2 separate regions of the Homo sapiens genome follow, and region 2 is linked to region 1. Evidence: promoter capture Hi-C in human tissues and cell types (Jung and others, 2019). All regions are on one chromosome and are shown on one strand. Each heading gives the region's core, a stretch centred on a gene start or on the middle of the fragment in contact. The rest is flanking DNA. Distances are from core to core; before and after follow the strand shown.

What was found. Contacts are between HindIII fragments. The study calls those that stand out against the background at their distance.
Region 2: a contact is called between a fragment that was not itself captured here and the fragment with the promoter of COA5 in region 1, in 1 of the 25 tissues and cell types used here (dorsolateral prefrontal cortex).

Annotation. Positions count from the first base shown.
Region 1 is chr2:98,605,213-98,611,539 of GRCh38, reverse strand. COA5 (cytochrome c oxidase assembly factor 5) reads left to right here and starts at 3,028. Exons shown (of 3, transcript NM_001008215.3): 1 at 3,028-3,233. The coding sequence starts at 3,135. It overlaps UNC50 (unc-50 inner nuclear membrane RNA binding protein), which reads right to left and starts at 2,951. Exons shown (of 6, transcript NM_014044.7): 1 at 2,814-2,951; 2 at 1,501-1,784; 3 at 645-765. The coding sequence starts at 1,780. RefSeq lists a silencer at 2,724-2,823 and an enhancer at 2,887-3,876. The HindIII fragment of the contact is 3,715 bases long and covers 1,428-5,142 here.
Region 2 is chr2:98,928,056-98,934,382 of GRCh38, reverse strand. The region is part of intron 1 of CRACDL (CRACD like); the gene reads left to right. Among named protein-coding and RNA genes, the nearest start is that of CRACDL, 5.0 kb to the left of the region's middle. The HindIII fragment of the contact is 5,395 bases long and covers 517-5,911 here.

The DNA.
Region 1 (6,327 bases), core at 1,779-4,278:
ACTCACCTGAGACAAGTGTTTATCTGATTGCTTCCTCTGCCCCATTGTTTATGTAAAAATGCAGACTCACTGAGCCAGATTAAGGCATAAATGACTATTCCTGTACCTGCCTCTCACAAGTAAATTGTGTATTCAGTGAAAGGCAGATCAAAGACTCAAAAGAATGCAACCATTTGTCTCTTATCTAACTGTAACCTGCCTTTCCCCACTTTCTGGATTAAAACAATGTACATTTTACACATATTGACTGATGTCTCAAGTCTCCCTAAAATGTATAAGAGCAAGCTGTGCCCCGACCACCTTGGGCACATGTCATCAGGACCTCCTAAGGCTGTGTCACAGGCATGTCCTTAACTTTGGCAAACTAAACTTTCTAAATTGAGACCGATCTCAGATATTTTGGGTTCAAAACATAATTATTTCAATTATTTGCTACATTTGACAATATTATAAACCAGCCTTTATAGTATTTTCTGATATAGGTGGCAACACAGGAGGGAAAATTGTAATAATCTTGGCAGTCAAAATTGATCATTTAGTAACTCTACCTGGGTTTCAATTTCCATCTGCTGCTATTGTACCTCTGAAGCAAACAAATGGAGATGCTACAGCAGTATCTGAAAAACCAAAGTTATGGTACTTACCACATTAAAGTTGCTATCAGAAGACCAACGCCTACACAATCTATGAGTACAACCCAAAGGAGAAGCTTTATTGTCTCAAAGAATCCCATGTCCAGCACAAAGCCAAATCCTATAGTGGACACTGAAAGAAAGATTCACAAGATTCATTTAGGGACTCTGCTAGGTTCTGGAAATACAGGACACATCCCTTGCCCTCCAGATGCCCAGGCTAGTGGGAGAGACAGGTCTTTAAACAAAACTCCCAAGATGTGTGAACACTACCTTGGGACACAGCGTGGCCACTGAGAGAGTTGAAGTTTCCTGAGGTGGGCCCTTGCCAGGCTGATTCACCACGGTGGCCTCAGTATTTAGAACGCCAGTGTAGAGAAGGCACTAACATAGTTTAAGTCCAGTTAAGGTGCAAAACACCCTATAAACTTCAATATCTTACCCACTTCAACACCCTACAGGTAAATGAGACCCTTGCATTATGGAATTGGAGAACTTCAGTTTCTCAGGTTCCCATCAATACCTTTACAATTCTCACTGTGGATTTGCCTGTGAAATGCAATTTCCAGTTTCATATTCCTATTCACAGTCAGCTGACATTTGGGTACCGATTCAAGTACTTAAAAAGATATGGAGTGAATCTTGTCCCCTGCTTTTCAATGTCCTAGGGTAACAGTTTACTCTGGCATCTGCTTGGGACCTGTAGAACCAAGACTACAACTTTCTTTCCTGTGAGATTTTTTGAGGCTTCAGTAAAAAGGAGAAATAGTTTCCAATATTTCCAGATTCTGACCCACAACACATTTATAACAAAAAATCTAATCAGAAACACTCAGCGTTCAATTCTATCTCAGATAAACACACTTACCACAGAGCCAGATACTTAACAGGACCAAGAAAGCAGGGTCATCTCTGGCCCACTGGTCCTTCGTCTGTTTTCGATAATGAAAATTTCTGTAAACTCTCTGTGGGGATGTGAACAGGTAGAGCATCTGCCAGGCAGCAAATTCAAAGTCCATTTGCCGAAAGCGGAAAAGCCTTCTCAGATATTTGTAGCGTTTCGCTCCGGCTGTGTGTCTTGCCGCATCCCTGGAATTCAAGACTCCGTTCCCCTGCACTAAGGAATTCACTGAAGTACTCGGTAACATCTTCCTAGATGGAAGAAAAACATTTCTTTTACACGTATTCTGAAGAAACATTTGGCTACCGACACTCCTCTTCTGAGTTATTTGGCAGGGAGGTCACTTTCCATGTTCTTCCCAACCCTAGAGAAAGGCCAGGAGTCAAAAGCAAATGCAGTTAGTTCTGAGGCGGGTCTTGGGGCTTGGGAACCGCAGACTGCAACCTCAGGCAAGGGCAACAGCCCACCCTTCTGAATCACCTAATAACACTTATCCAGGGGCAGCTACCATTACAGAGACAGGGATGATGTGACTGCCCCATGACTCCGAGGATAGTGATAGAGCCAAGATTGGAAATCTGACTCGAAATTCCGTGCTCTTAACCACCAAGCTTTTAAGAAAATGCCTAAGAAAGCAGTTTCAGCCGGTTAGAACAGTGTTACTGAAGAGGTCAAATAAATGGCCTATTCACACAGATCCATCAGCGCACTGCCAGCAAGCTTCTCGGTCACTAGAATGAGATTAAAAAACCAAGAAAAACTCCGATCCCTAGTGTTTTACATCCGGAATAGTTCAGCAGAGGGAGCGGTAGCGTCGGAGTCCAATCCAACCGGTCCGAGCTCCGGGGAACGCCGGCCACTGCCCGGCTGCCCGTCTCCCCTCCACTTCGCAGGCCCCCCAGACGCCGGCAGGGTCTGGCCGAGCCCAGCTGCTCCCTCCCTGCCCGGGGCCGCGGGTACGGCTGCCAGATTTAGCAAATAAAAACACAGAATACCCAGCTCCATTTGGATTTCAGACAGGCCACGAATAAGGTTTTAGTATGCCTACATCCCACGCAACATTTCGGACATGCTTATACTAAATGCTCTTTCTTTATCTACGATGCAAATGTAACTGGGCGTCCTTTCATTTTAGCCGCAACTCTATCGCCGGCCGAGGGGCCGGACGCCGACATGGTCACTGCCAGGCCGCAGCGACGTCAGGCCGCAAGCTGTCGGGATTAAATGGCCCCCGGCGCGAGCCCGGGCCGCGGGAGGGCAGAGTGGTCCTCAGGCCTCACCTGGAGTCCTGCTACAGCCTCGACCCACGTCCGAACCAGCCCACCACCTCCTCCCAGCAGCCGACCCCAGCCGCCACCGGGCGGGCTTCCCTTCCCTCAACGGAGCCGGCCCTTGGGGCGCGCCGCGTCACGGGAACCGACTTCCGCCGCGGACGCGCCACCTCTCGGCCCCCGTAGTCCTCGGCCCTACCGCCGCGGCCCGCCGGAAGTTGTTGCCGCTGGCTTCCGGTCCCCTGAGACTGGGGCCTCGCTCGCTCCCGACCCGGTTGCAAGTGTTGCGGTGGGAGAAAGTCGCGTCCGCATCGGAGGGGAAGCGCCGTCATGCCTAAGTATTATGAGGACAAGCCGCAGGGCGGCGCGTGCGCGGGCCTGAAGGAGGACCTGGGCGCGTGTCTGCTGCAGTCGGACTGTGTGGTCCAGGTAGCGCGGCCGGGCGCTCCCGGTGGTGACGACCCCTGTCCCAGGCAGGCCTGGCTCGGCGGAGGGCAGCGGGTCGCCCGCGGCGGCGGTTGGAGTTAACCATCCCGGGCGTAGGTCACAGCTCGGGCTCACTGAACGTGCGCAGATCCACTGAGCTGTCGGAGCCCCAGTTCCCTGTGGGGTTAAATCGGAGATAACGATAAACGCACCCTGTCGGGTTTTTGTAAAGGTTAACCCATTTCAGTTCACGAAGCCTTTATTGAATGCTAGCACTCTACTAGGCTTTGGAGACATAAAGGAGAATAAGCCAGGTTTCTTGCCTGCCTAGAAATGATAATCTGTAGAATTAATGATTCCAGAGAGTTGCGTAAACCTGGTACACTGCCCTGGCCAGTAGTGTCTCCTGCCTGTTCAGTTGTGACAATGTGTGCTCAGTTTGACTTGTGTTGATGTGAATTTGTTTCTGAGTTACAGTTCTCTGCATTCTTGGATGTTAAGTTGTAAAAATAAGGCAACTCCATATTTTCACGATTTCGTATCTTGCTTCCCCTACACTCTTCCTTCACTCCCCGGCTACAGACACAGGTCTCCTCAGCACCCTCTTGGAATGCACTGAAACATGTAGTGAGGTTCACAGTGGACCTGAGTTCTGGATTAGAGCTCAAGTAAAGCACAAGTGCCTTTTCCAATTGCAGAGGCCCGACGAGAGGGCATTCAATTGTGTGCAATTGTCTTTGCATTGGGGGATGTAGTTTCAGAAAGTTGCTGTTATTTCAGAGAAAAGATTACCCCCAAATGGACATCCACTGTAAGACTGTACCAGTGTTTCTACCGAGTCACAATTTGTTTGGTTCACTGATTTTAGCAGTCAGCCATTCTCGCCTCCCAATGTCTAGTAAAACTTGAGTTATTATAAATTTAAGAGATTATCTCGCCCAACTTCCTTATATAAATGAGGAAACTGAAGTACCGTTGTTTTCAGGCTCCCCTGTCCAGGGCTGTGTCCCTTCTGCCCCTTACTCACTGGTGCTGCCGTTCAGCCAGCTCCTGGTAAATGCCTCTTAAGTGGCAGGCATGGTACCTGACACTGGTGATAACGAAGATGAATCAGTAACAGTCACTACCCATGTAAGCTTGGTGTCATGGGAGAAATAGACATCTAAGGGTCTAAATTCCTGCCATAAGACTGTAAGCATTTATTAAACATGTGTTTAATGACTAGATCTTGAGGAGAAAAATGCGTTAGCCCAAGGGAGAGCGTCTGATTTTGCTTCAGAATTTGGAATCTTCTGAGATGACATTTGAGCTGAGTCTTAAAAGTTGAGTAGTAGTTTATCAAGTAAAGGAGTGGGAACTGTTGTGGTTGTGGGGAAAATCTGAAAGAACAGCAAGTGCAGAGGCAGGGAGATGTGGGAGGGCGCAGAGGAGCTAGTGTCCTGCCATAGGGGAATGCGACAGAAGGCCTGAGGGGAAGGTTGCAGCCAGGTGTGAAGGCCTGTATGTGTGTCAGAGTGAGGAGACTGGATTTTATCCAGACGTTCAGCATCGGAAGGCCATGTTGATGAGTAGTCAAGGGAAGAAAGTACACTGAGTAGGACTGAGGAAAGAAACTCCAAGTGGAGGACAATAGCAGCAGCACAGAGAATTCCAAGCTGGCTTTCTGCAGCGGTTGATACAGCAAACATGTACGGAGCGCCAGGCTCCAGTTCAGGGAACAAATACTGATGAATGGAACATGGTCTCTCCAGTATAGAAAGCGGAGCTGTTTGGCTAGAATGCTGTAGGCAGAGATTATGGTTGGGACAGCTGGTACAGACTTTGCTTTTCCCGCCATTGAATATGTGGCCTTACCAGTGCTCAGTTTGGTCAGCCAGAAAACGTGATGCTTATAAGCAGTTCTTTAGATGGAAGTTCGTATACAGTTTGTGTTAAATTCATTCTGAATGCTGACTTCAGCTGGATTGTAAAAGGGCAATAGTGAGGAGGTTTGCAGGTCCAGAACAATCTCCTACAATCTGTTGGCAGCTACTGCCCACTGCTCCTCACTGGGGACTCTGAAAGACCAAGGAAAGCTCTGCTGAGGTCTGTGCTTGCTCTGTGTGGCAACCTTAATTATGATGGAAATTTTTGATTTCTTAAGTTCTTGAATAAAAAGGTTAATCTGATCCTATGGCAGGTTGGTGCTGTAGTCTCTTCTTGCCAGTCTTTAACCCACCTGAAACCTGCAGCACCTCGCTCTAGGGAGGAATTCAACATAAACATGTATTTAGTTCTAGGTGCTGCTTTGGGAGACTGTCAAGGAGTTAGAGGGCCTCAGAGAAACTCAGGGTAATGGTAAGGATGTAAATTCCAGTGGGGCTGGAGGAAAGCAGGGAAAAAGCAGATTCAAAAGGCATCTCTTGAAGAGACTTCTTAGGATTTAATGACTCCTGGATGATCAGGACAATGAAACTCTGCCAGAGGAACTTCACTCATCATAGGGTATCTTCGTCTCCACTAACAGCTTCCAGATCCACTGACTCTTCATCAGAATCACCTAGAAGTGGTGTGGCTTTTTAAAAGTACAGATTCCACTGCTGCCCTCACCCTACCCCCAATAAGTTAAAAGTTTCTTTCCTAGGTTGGTTTTGGGCACAGCCATGTTTGAGAGCACTGACTGATCTTGACCTCAGAAGGCAAAAAAGCTTGGGAGTGTATTAGTTAGAATATAGATTCAAGTGCATGTTACAGAGACCCAGAATAATAGTGGCTTAAACGAGATAGAGAACTTTCTCTTTTGTCCTTGTGCCTATAATCAGGGCCTAGTCATTTCCCTCAGTCTTCCATGAACGCAGACACTGTTGATCTTGTGACTCTGTGCTGTGAAAATAGGAAAATATAGCAAGTAGGGTGTTACTCTCATATTCATGGTCCAAGACTGGTTTGCTTCCACATCATCAGGCCCGGCAACCTTATGGAGTGAAGTGAGGAAAGGGGCAAGCCTCTTTAAGGACCAACCCAGAAGTTCTACACCTGTTTCCCACACATTCCAGTGGCTAGAACTTAGTCACAGGACCACAGCTAGATGCAAGGGCGTCTAGGAGATCTCACCCAG
Region 2 (6,327 bases), core at 1,965-4,464, 320 kb before region 1:
ACTCTACTAAAAATACAAAACAAAAATAGCCAGGTGTGGCGCCTGTAATCCAGCTACTCGGGAGGCCGAGGCAGGGGAATTGCTTGAACCAGGGACGTAGAGGTTGCAGTGAGCTGAGATGGCACCACTGCACTCCAGCCTGGGCAGCAGAGTGAGGCTCAGTCTCAAAAAAAAAAAAAAAAAAAAAGGATGAATCTTGACCAATCTCAGTGCACCATTCAGGGAAATGAGAGCAGTGATAGTGCTATGGTTTGAATGTTTGTGTCCCCCCAAAAATTCATATGTGGATTCCTAATCCTCAAGGTGATGGTATTAAGAGATGAGGCCTTTGGGAAGTGATAGGTCATGAATGGGCTTGGTGCCCTTATAAAAGAAGCGCAAGGAGCTCGCTCGTCCCTTCCACCATGTGAGGACACTGTGAGGAGGCGCCTTCTATGAGGAATGGGCCCCCACCAGACACCCAACCTGCCAGTGCCTTGATCTTGGACTTCCAGCCTCTGGAACTGCAAGGAATAAATGTCTGTTGTCTATGAGCTGCCCGGTTTATGGTATTTTGTTATAGCAGCTGAAATGGACTCAGCTGGCCAGCCCTCAGGGATGCTCTTGGTTAAATGAGAGAATAGATGTGAAGGTACCAGGCCTCCAGGAGGGTGGGTTTTCTGTGATGTCCTGGTGGGCCTGGATTTGACTTAGCTACCTTGCAGTCACTGGCTCTTCCCCTGCAGGCTGGCTCCGTGCCTTGTCATGCAGTTGCTTGTTGTGCACATAAATACTGCTTGTGTTGCAGGTGGACTCTCTGGGTGGAAACCTGCCCAGGGTTTATTGTGGAAAGGTGCAAAATTTTGTGTAAGTGAGCTTGATTTTGCTGTCCCTAGTGAAGTCCCTTGGTTCCCTTTTTCATATACTCAGTTCCCAGTGCATGGTTCTGTTTTTCTAGAGCCTAATTCAATGGTATTATTTCAGTCACTATTTAGCTTAAAGGTAGCTTCGTCCCTGGTGGGAGTCAGTCTCTCAGTCTTTCCACGTTACTCCTCGGGGACCCCTTTTCGCTACAAGTCACCCCTGGGCACCAGGAGAGGGTTGTAGTCCCATCAGAGCTTGAGGGGAGTGGCCCTGACTGGTCATCTGGTCCTCTTGCGGTGCCCCAGTGAGTCCCTTTCCCCTCCACATGGAGCCTCCGGCTCACATTTCCATCATTGTCCAGCTGGTGTCCCCAGGGTGAGCCACAGCGGGGACCTGGCTCTTCCATTGGCCCAGAGGTCCCCATGCTCTGAGGTCTCTTCTGGGCCCCTATTGGGCACCTGGGAGCCCGCCCAGGTTGTGCGGAACCGTACTAGGCCTCCATTTCTACTGTTCTGAGCTCGGCCTTCCCTGAGTTCCCACAGGAAGCAGGACAAGAACGCCCCCTCAGCCCCACCCCTGCTCCTCCAGGTGGGGTGCACAGCGGTAGGTGCTCAGTGCCTGGGTTCATGTCCCAGACCCAGAAGGCATTTTTCTACCTGTGGGGCAGGGCTGTTTCTTAGGTTCTGTCTTCTGTCCTCTGCACATCATGGCTTTGGGGAGAGCTCTAGGCTCCAGCTTCCAGGCTTTGCCCTTGATACATAAAAGGAAGTTTAAAATATCTCTGTATTCACCACTGTCTTGGGTAAAGTGTGCTAGGCCTTTTTATTACCTGAAAAAGACTGGGAGAGCCGTCGGGGCTGCTGGAGACTTCAGTCAGGGCTGGGAGAAGGCAAGGAAGGAGTAGCTGGCAGCGGCGTTGCGGGGATTGAATGGCTTTCTGCGTACACAGCCCGGCCCACTGTCATGGGGATGGGCGTCTTCCAAACCACCGTTCCTATTTATGCTGTTGCTGCCTCATCATCAGAGCAACCCCCTGTGTGCTTGGCACTCACTACAAGCCGGAAAGGTCCGAGTCATAATTGCTGCTTCTGGTGAATAAGATGAGCCCTTGTCAAGCCTGTACCTGCAAGCCTGAGCCCTGGATTTAGTTCACACTCAGTTCACACTGGATTTGGAAGGGGAGGTAATCAGGGGAAGCTTCTTGGAGGAGGTGGAACTTAAAGTAACAACTTGGCCACATGGATGTGAGATGCAAGAGAACTGCCTTTGAAAGGGAGACAGGCCGGCCCGGCCTGGTGTTCACAGGCCCACCTGTGGCTTGATGCTGGCTGGTGTCCCGCCGATCTCTTCTGTTGTCTAGATACCTGCAAACACCGGTACTGCTGGTGTCACCTGTGGGTAGGACAACACAGACAGCCAGCGTTCAAAATCCTTCTGTTTTCCCCAAACTGAACGGAAATCAGGAGAATTCTCATCAAATAATGCTCTTTCTAGATCTCTGTGTCTGGAAAATAACTTCAAAACTTTAGGTCAGATTAAGAGTCCTTAAGACACATTTATGATTTTGACAAATTACCTTGAAGATATTTGTATTGCTTTTAAGGGGGTCTAACCCATAATCCTGAGCCAAGTGGATAATGAACTAGAGATGCTGTTTCTGTCGGTGCCCAGTGAATTTAGCAGTGAAATGATGGGAAATGATAAGACAGGCATGTGATGTAACAGGGCACCTCCTGAGCAGCGTCAGCCACCAGCTTTTCACAGGCTCAGATACCATTCTGGAGGAGACTGCTGGTAGGAAGGATTCTCAGACATTTTTCTTATGATCTGGGTATCTGTGAAAGGAAATTATGGAAGTTCGTTTTGAAAAGTGCAGATGGAAAGGTATTTATTTGCTCAGGCCTTCTCCTGGCTGTGGTGTGTGGGGCTGGTTTTTAACTGTGTGTAGCTGAAGAACTTCCAGAAATATTTGCCTTAACCTCTGAGGTCCATACACCAGTCTCTCCATGGTTTCTGCCCTCAAATTCTCATGTCTGTGGGAAGCACCAGAACCATTAGCTGCGGGGTGTGCAGTTTCCAAGAAACTACTCTCGGAAACACTGCCCCATATGTGGGAGGAGAAAATGTCAGAGAGGTTGCCTTCTTTTTAAAGCAGTTGGTCCAGTCAAGGTCAGGGGAGTCAGGCTCTAGTGTCTTTTTTTTTTTTTTTTTTTTTGAGATGGAGTCTTGCTCTGTCGCCCAGGCTGGAGTGCAGTGGCGCGATCTCTGCTCACTGCAACCTCTGCCTCCTGGGTTCAAGGGATTCTCTTGCCTCAGCCTCCTGAGTAGCTGGGATTACAGGTGCCTGTCACCACACCTGGCAAATTTTTGTATTTTTAGTAGAGACGAGGTTTCTCCATGTTAGCCAGGCTGGTCTCGATCTCCTGACCTCAAGTGATCCACCCACCATGGCCTCCCGAAGTGCTGGGATTACAGGCGTAAGCCACCATGCCCAGCCCAGGCTCTGGTTTCTGCTGTGCCACTTAGAAGTCCTGCAACCTCAGTCACCCCTTAGATGGGGTGGGGGGGTGGTAGACACACACACACACACACACACATACATGAGCATTACATGAGGTGCTGTATGACAAACATAGAAAATGCTCCATAAATTATTTATAGGTATTACTCTCTTATTGTCTTTCTTGTAAGACGGTTAAAGGGCATTTGTTATAACTACCAGTTAGGACCCCTACTAATAATGTTCCCTAAAGCAATAAAGGGTCCTTCCATAACTGAGATCTGATGGCATTTAAGGAAAATGAGCATAACTGCCATACACAGTGCTCCTGAGCACAGCTGCTGGTGGAAGCTGTCATGTGGGGAACAACCTTGACGCAATTTAGAACACACAGGGAGAAGCGAGGGGACGGAAGAGGGGTAGGTGACACAGGACAGGGGTGGGACAGAGATGGGGTAGGTGATATAGGTAGGATAGGGTGGGGTCAGAGATGCAGTAGGGGACACAGGACAGAGGGTGGGGATGGGGATGGAGTAGGGGACACAGGACAGAGGGTGGGGACGGGGATGGGGTAGGGGACACGGTACAGAGGGTGGGGACGGGGATGGGGTAGGGGACACGGTACAGAGGGTGGGGACGGGGATGGGGTAGGGGACACGGTACAGAGGGTGGGGACGGGGATGGGGTAGGGGACACGGTACAGAGGGTGGGGATGGGGATGGGGTAGGGGACACGGTACAGAGGGTGGGGACGGAGATGTGGTAGCTGGAAAGCATCCGTGTGTCCTGTCTTGCTCTGCAGCATCCGCCTTCCCCACTAATGTGTGAGGAGAAGGACCTGACTTGAAGCACTTGCATGGGGGCCACGGATGGGAGGTGCCCTGGGCCAAGACATACGCCCCGTCGTGTTGGAGAGACACAGGGATGGTTCTGCCCTGCCACGTCTGGGCTCACTAGTGAGTGTGTTGAACAGCCTTGGATTCAGAGGACCAGCATTGGGTCACCAGTGGGGAAGCGAATTTTGAGGGAATATCAGGTTCCTCTGGGTAACTGGTCCCGTGCATACAAATGTATCGTGGTATCGAGCACCTTTTCCATGTCGAATGTATCGTGAGTCTTTGCTGCCCAGCTGCCTTGGGTCCATGTGGTGCTTCATGAATACTAGGTGTCTTAGAGCTCGTATCTCCTCCTCTGTTTGATATACACCTGCTCTACTTCCTATTTATCTCTACTTGACATATCCTATGAGATTCACCCATTGCGTTTGTTGTTTTTTTCTTCAAAATTGAATGTTCCCAAACAATTTGACAAATGCCCCTTATTGAAGACACTAAACTCGTCCCTGAGAATGGGTTTTGAGATTGGGCATAGTTTTGTGAAGCCATCATCCCATCCAGATGGGGGAGCCTGCCGTGCCTGGGGCATTCTGGGACCAGGTGTGGGTCTGTAGAGGTTCGCGAAGCTTTGCTTACACTCACTTCAGGTCCACAGACACTGAACTGTGTGCTCAGGGATGGTTTCTTCCCCTGGCTCCTCAGGACAGAGACATGACCAGAGAGGCGGCTCCCCCGTCCCACTGTAGATGCTGCTTGGAGTCTGAGGCATACTGGGCTGCTCTCTGGGCTCTTGGTCTGATTACAACTCTGCGACTACACACAAGGTCTGCACCAGACAGGTAAGGGAGTAGGTGCGGTGGGCACAGGGGCCACACCAGGTCCAAGGGCATCGGCCCAGACCGTGGCTCTCGGGTTCTCTCCCTTCTGTGCAGGCGGCATGGGAAATACCGCAAGCACTCTGAAGCCCCATCTCCACTCTTTGCCTGCTTTCTAACCTGGGTTTAACACCTCCCTCCTGGCTCCGGAGTTTCTATGATCTTGCTTTAATACCTTAATTATTGACCTTTGTTCCCTAAGGAGGGGTATTAAGAACTTTTTTGTGGATCTTTTCTGCATGGAAGATTTGTGACTTTGAATCTGCAGCACTAGCTTGGCCAGTGGAGGTGAGGAGGGAGAAGAAATGGGGTGTTTTCAGGGGTCAGACCCACTCCCTTGAAGGTCTGAGTCAAATGGCCACACCTCTCCATGGGGCTGGGTGATTCGGTCTCTGAGCTGTGATCATTTCTACGGGAACCGAATTCCATGTAGTTTTGGATGGTTGCTGGGTGTCAGCTACAAGCTCCATTGGAAATCACATTCTGAAATTATCATGTGTTAGTGCTTCCAGTATGCTCTCTGGTTGAAAATGGCATTTTTATAGACAAATACAAGCATTTTGAAGGTTTGAGTCACTTGCTTTGTGAGGCTTGGCCAGTGTTATCTTGTTTTCTTCACAGCCTTTGTGAGCCAAAACAGGTCTTTGAGTTGAGGTGTGCTGGTGCGAGGGGCTTCTCTGGTACCACATTCTAGAACAGAAATGACTGAATGAATTTTGTGGGCCTGCGTCAGCCTCTCGAGTAGCTGGACCCTCGGTAGGGGAGGAAGCCCTATAGACCAGACATGGCCAGGCCAGCCAGCAGGGAGGGCCCAGCAATTAGCACGAAGAAGTCTGGTCAGCTGTCTGGGGCTCTGAACAGACTAGAGATTTCCCTCACCTCAGTCAGGCTGCTCTTTGGCCACAGTGTTACGTGGCTTGAGGCTGGGTGCTGCAGTAACTGTCTGTACCATCAAGCCTGGGGGCGGAACAGGAGCGGATCTCTTACAACATTTGGGGCAGAGCCTTCCGAACTTCTGTCTGTGCTATACTGACTATACATACATACGTATATGCGCTAACATACATATTTACCCCAAAGAGGTAATGTCTGTATTGTTTTGTGAGCTGTCTTATTTTTTTTTATTTTTATTTATTTATTTATTTTTTTGAGAGTCTTGCTTTGTCTCCCAGGCTGGAATGCAGTGGCGCCATTTCTGATCACTGCAACCTCCACCTCCTGGGTTCAAGAGATTCTTCTGTGTCAGCCTCTCGAGTAGCTGGGATTACAGGCAC